Linked DNA regions of Homo sapiens: region 1 is linked to region 2. The links are contacts of gene promoters, found by promoter capture Hi-C in human tissues and cell types (Jung and others, 2019). All regions are on one chromosome and are shown on one strand. The core of a region is centred on a gene start or on the middle of the fragment in contact, and the rest is flanking DNA. Distances in the headings are between cores, read along the strand shown. Region 1 has its middle 27 kb from the start of CCDC182. Region 2 holds the start of OR4D2 (olfactory receptor family 4 subfamily D member 2).

Region 1 (2,757 bases), core at 77-2,576, 390 kb before region 2:
CTGCAAGAGAAAATATTCTACTTAACAAGATTTAACACACTGCCTTTTATCCCAGAGCAAATCAGATGAGTCATGTAAACCCACTGGCCTTTTTTCTGTACCTGGAAATGAGGGTATTTGAAGTATAACTTATATTAACAGATACGAAGGTAGAAAAATCATAGCTATCTAACAATCAGAAATAGAAAAAAAAAAGACAGTATACCTGCTTCATTGTACATTATCAGTCATTAAAAGTAAATTTCACAAAGAGTTTAACATTCAAGCGTGTTAATAATATCAAAATAATTGAATGAAGCAGGATATAAAAGTACATATTAGGCATTTTATTATTACAACTACTTAAAACATATCCAGAATGCTAAAGTATTTATAGGTGAAGGGTACTGATGTTCATTGCTTTGAAATGCACTAAAAATAAGATAATTGTAGAATCTAAGTAGTGGGTATGGAATGTTCACTTTATGTGTTTGAAAATTTTCAGAATAAAATGTTGAAAAATATGTGTAGAAAAAAAAGAGAGCGAAAGGAAAAACTTACGGATGTTAAGAACAGTCATCTTTGGCCAGGCATGGTGGTTCACGCCTGTAATCTCAGCACTTTGGGAGGCTGAGGCAGGTGGATCGCCTGAAGTCAGGAGTTTGAGACCAGCCTGGCCAACATAGTGAAAACCCGTCTCTAATAAAAACACACACACAAAAAAAAAAAAATTAGCCGGGCATGGTCGCACACGCCTTAGTCCCAGCTACTCTGCAGGCTGAGGCAGGAGAATCACTTGAACCCAGGAAGCAGAGGTTGCAGTGAGCCAAGATTGTGCCACTGCACTCCAGCCTGGGTGGCAGAGTGGACTTCATCTCAAAAAAAAAAAAAAAAAAAAAGAGCAGTCATCTTTATGTGATGGGATTATGGGTGATTATTTTTCCTCTTTCTAATCTTCTACTGTTTCAGTTACCTATTGTTATATCAAACCATCCCAACACATAGAGACTTAAAACTACATCCATTGATTATTTCTTATACTCCGTTTGTGAGTTGGTGACTTAAAACAACAGAACTATTTATTATTTCTCCTGATTCCATTTGCTAGCAGGGAGGTTCCTCAGCAGGTTTTGTTTGGGCTCAGGCAGTTGCTTTCAGCTGGAGAGTCAACTGGGGTGGGAGATCCAAGTCAACCTCCCTTACGCCGTTGGTAGTTGGTGCAGAATGATGGTGGGCCTTTCTCTCCATGTGGTCTTTCATCCCAGGCTTCTTCATGGATGTCTGTCTCAGGGCAATGTTCCTAGAGGAGAGCAAAGGTGGAAGCAGCAATGACTCATAAGCCCTAGCCTCAGAAGTTGCCTAGCTTTGCTTTCTGCCCCTTTCTATGTGGACAAAGCTGGTCTCAAAGCCAATGAAATTGCAAGGAGTAGACAAGCAGATGTCTCCTCTGGATGGGAGGAGTTGCAAAGCTGTATTGCAAAGGGTCATAATCCTGGATTGAAATGAATCTGGAGCCATAAAAAACCTACTACAACTACTGCGCTAGATGTTAAAATGGGATTCTTGTCTCAGTATTACTGAGACAAGACATTATTTCTACTGAAAGTAGAAAATAATGGGTGCAGAGTAAAGCAGGATGCTGGGCCAGCATGGCAGGGTCTCCAGTTCAGTCAGCACTCGAACATCATTGATTGTTTTAAGAGAAGGCTGTGAATGCATGAATCAGGATGAAGAGATTGAGAGTAAAGATTTCTTTAAAGAGGGAGAGAGTTAGTTGTTGAATACAAAGGCAGGGGCACTTAGAACCACTCAAAGGATTTGCTCTATGCCCCTAGAATTTGAAGGATGCAGGGATGCAACCTGACTCATGCTCCAAAATCAAAGACAGAGGGCCAGCTGGGATGGCCTGCATGGATGGGCAGCCAAGAGGCAGGGCAGGGGCAGGAAGCACTGCACTTGTTAGGTTTGGTGGTGCGAGGATACAGGTGCGCTTCCCGTGGACCAGACGTGGACTTCCCCTGAGAAAAATGCCTGCTTATAGGTCAGATATGGATCCCCTAGAAGTGAGTGCTCCCTGCTGGAGAAGTGAGGCGACCACAACAGAGGAGCTGACTGCTGTAAATTAGCGCTCTTATGGAGTCAGCTGGAGGAAGCACCGTCCAAGAAAATCCTCAGCCAGTGGGGAGATGGTGTCTCCAAAGAACCCTAAAGAGCACACACAGGAGAAACACACCCTCAGGATACCAGGTTACAACTGTTCCAGTCAACCAAGACTTTGCTTGCCCCCTAAGCCTCTCCCCCATCTTCCTCCCACACTGGCCCAGGTGGCAGAAGCCGACTACTGAGAGGGGGCGCGAGGAAGAAAACAGAGAAGAGGCAACTGCATACATGCCTGTGCCCACGGGCCAAGCTCAGCAAGGGGAGAAGTTATAAACTGCATGAGAGTTTGATATGAGACTGGGACTTGACATTTTATTACCTGAAGGAGCAAGACTCTTAATTAATACCTGGGAGTATCCAAAAAGCAAGAGAAAGAAAAAATGAATCCACAGAGCCAGTGTGCAGGGCAAGTCGGGGGAAGAGTAGAGTTGCTTTCTGTCTGCACCCCACCAAGCCAGCCCAACTCATTCATTTACCTGGTTACTTTATATTTTCCATTTTTTATATTAAACTGGCATGACTTATAGAGAGAATGAAAAATAAACTCTGTTTTTAAAAGGGAAGAAAAGAGCTTTGCACTCTACATTTCAGAGTTTTAAGATTGATGAGAAGGCGTCC
Region 2 (2,993 bases), core at 10-2,509:
CCCAGAGGCAGAGTCTTTATTTTGCCAAGTATAAACATTCGCAATGAAAGAACTCAGACCAACCTGAGAACCTCACGTGGATCAGAGAGCTGTGAGAAATCACACAGATTTTACAGCACATCAAGCTTACAGTGTTGGTTAATTCCAATTTTTAATCAGTTCCTCATAATTAGAAAATATATGGGCTTCTTGTGCCAATCCTTGTATTAAAGGGAGTAATAATTGACATGTAAATAATGCTAGCACTTTGTAGATGGTGTGAGTATAATTGATATGGGTAGTGAATCAACTGTGGGGGTATTGGTTGACAAGATGAAGAACAAGATTTATGGGGTAATTAAGTTTTCATTTTAGTATGCAGACATTTTCCCATCCATGACGTTGCCTATGTAAAGATCAATTCAGTTTAAAAGGAGAAGAAATCAAACCAGTTACCTTGACAACACCATGAAAGAGAACTATCCATTGTGCTGAAGAGCAAGTCGTTGGTTCTCAATGTCTGGTCCCTGGAACAGGTGCATCAGCATTATCTGAGAACTTGCTACAAATGCAAATTCTTGGTCTTACCATTGATGTACTGAATGAGAAATTCTGGGCTGGGAACAGAAGTCTGCCTTTTAACAAGGCCTTCAGGTAATTCTCTCAAGGGTAGGTGTCACTGGTCTAAGAAAGAAATTCTCCTAAAACTCTCAGAGTCTCCTTTTTTTTGAAGACCCTCTTGTCCTTTTGGATCTTGGCCTGAATATTACCCATTCCTCAAATCTCTAAAATTTTCAATGTGCTTGGTACTTTGGGCCCCCCAAGGAAGACCTCTCAAAGAGTGTGTGCTTTTGAGACATTTAGAAACTTTTTAACAACTCCCATTGCTCCCTTGGCCCCAGTGATAATCAGCCCAGCTCAGCTTCCTGAGCCCTGTCCAATAGTTTCTCCCAAAGGATATTCCCCCTTCCCCTGGGGTCTCACCCATGGTATTATTCATGAAGTAAGGGCAGGAGCTAAGAAACTGTGAGGCTGAAGCAAAGGATCTCCAAGAAGATGTACACTGAAGCCCCATTCTGGGCTAAAGGGAGGTGAGAGACCAGTGTTTCCTCAGCTGCACAGAGATCAGCTGTAAGAAAGATCTTGCAACACCTGCTAGAGGGTGGGAGTAATAAGCAAGTGACATAGACCTGACGATAGTAAGTCTAAAGGATGAGCAGAGACTCAAGAAAAACTGCAAGGGGAATGTGATGTTGAAAACGGATGCCTCCGATTACATAGGAAAACAACAAAGCACAGAATTCGCCCTATGAGACTTAGAGGGAGGATGCTCACAGCAAAGGACATCAACGGTGAGGAAAATCACAAGATTCTCGACATTGTCACATAAAACAAAGTCACATTTACCTGCTAATATATTAAGTTGGCAAACATTTCTGAGCAAGTGCTAAATCAGAGATGCTGTCATAGACTCTGGGCTTACTAAGTTATTGAATTTACAATCTAGTTAAGAGAAGCAATAGAAAAAATGATAAATGCTATAATGGAGGTATTTATCAAATGCTATTGGAACACAGAGAAATAAGGAATTAATTCTGCATGAGAGAAATGGGGGGAGGAGTCAAAGGGAAAGTGATATTTCTCTTATCGCCTCTAGGTTGAGAAGGTAGCAAAAGGCATTTCAGGAAACAGGATTTATTACCAAAGATATGAAAATAATGAAATATACTGCCTACATGGAAGCTATGAGTTCTTTGAACAGCAATCAGTTCCCAGGTGACAGTGATACTGATTAGAAAGGTATAGGGAGGCTATTTTTTATAGTCTTGTATGAAATGCTGAGAGAGAGTTGCATGCACGTATGTAGGTATGTTTTTCCACCCTCAGTTTATCCACAGAGCATTTTAGGTGGCTTCTGAGAGTTTGAGTTTTAAGCTGTGAGCAAATCAAATATTATAACAATGAGGAATATGATCACATCTGAGTCAGAGGGGTCTCATGGACAGCTGTGTAGAAGGTGTCCTGGAGTGAGGCCAGGCGCGGTGGCTCATGCCTGTAATCCCAGCACTTTGGGAGGCGGAAGCGGGCGGATCACGAGGTCAGGAGATCGAGACCATCCTGCTAACACAGTGAAACCGTGTTACAAAAAAAATTAGCCGGGCGAGGTGGTGGGCGCCTGTAGTTCCAGCTACGCGGGAGGCTGAGGTAAAAGAATGGCGTGAACCCGGGAGGCGGAGCTTGCAGTGAGTGAGCCGAGATCGCGCCACTCCAGCCTGGGCGACAGCGAGACTCCGTCACAAAAAAAAAAAAAAAAAAAAAAAGAAGGTGTCCTGGAGTGGAAGTAAACTGAAGGAGCAGAATAAGATTAGAATGACCTATAATATTGTAGATAATAGATTGCAATAGGCCAGGTAAGAGAGGGTAAGAGAGATTGAGACAGGGCAGGGGGAGGGGGGAGACCACTGACCCCCTCCCCTGTCACCCTCCATCTTCTTCTTCTTTTTTTTTTGTTTTTGATTTTTTGAGACAGAGTCTCGCTCTGTCACCCAGGCTGGAGTGCAGTGGCATGACCTCCACTCACTGCAGCCTCCAACCAGCTTCAAGCGATTCTCCTGCCTCAGCCTCCCAAGTAGCTGAGATTACAGGTGTGTGCCACCACGCCCGGCTAATTTTTTTGTATTTTTAGTACAGATCCGGAGTTTCACCATGTTGGCCAGGCTGGTCTCAAACTTCTGACTTCAAGTGATCCATCCGCCTCCGCCTCCCAAATTTCTGGGACTACAGGCGTGAGCCACCTCTCCCGGCTCCTCCATCTTCTTCTGTCCCTTTAGTCCCGTTTTCTCCACCTCCCCAGCACTTTTCCACTTCCTTTACCTTCACTTGCTCTATTCCTTCATCTCCCTTTATTCCTTTGTCTATTTCTATTTGTTTTCTTTCAACAACTTCCTTTGTCTCCCACCCTTGGATTCAGTAACATCTTGTAAAATTCCTGTTTCATTCAGAAGCTCTCTGAG

The links. Contacts are between HindIII fragments. The study calls those that stand out against the background at their distance.
Region 1: a contact is called between a fragment that was not itself captured here and the fragment with the promoter of OR4D2 in region 2, in 1 of the 25 tissues and cell types used here (spleen).

What each region holds. Positions count from the first base shown.
Region 1 is chr17:57,770,918-57,773,674 of GRCh38, forward strand. No RefSeq gene overlaps it. Among named protein-coding and RNA genes, the nearest start is that of CCDC182, 27 kb to the left of the region's middle. The HindIII fragment of the contact is 9,168 bases long and covers 1-2,757 here.
Region 2 is chr17:58,165,723-58,168,715 of GRCh38, forward strand. OR4D2 (olfactory receptor family 4 subfamily D member 2) reads left to right here and starts at 1,260. Exons shown (of 2, transcript NM_001004707.4): 1 at 1,260-1,331. The HindIII fragment of the contact is 7,868 bases long and covers 1-2,993 here.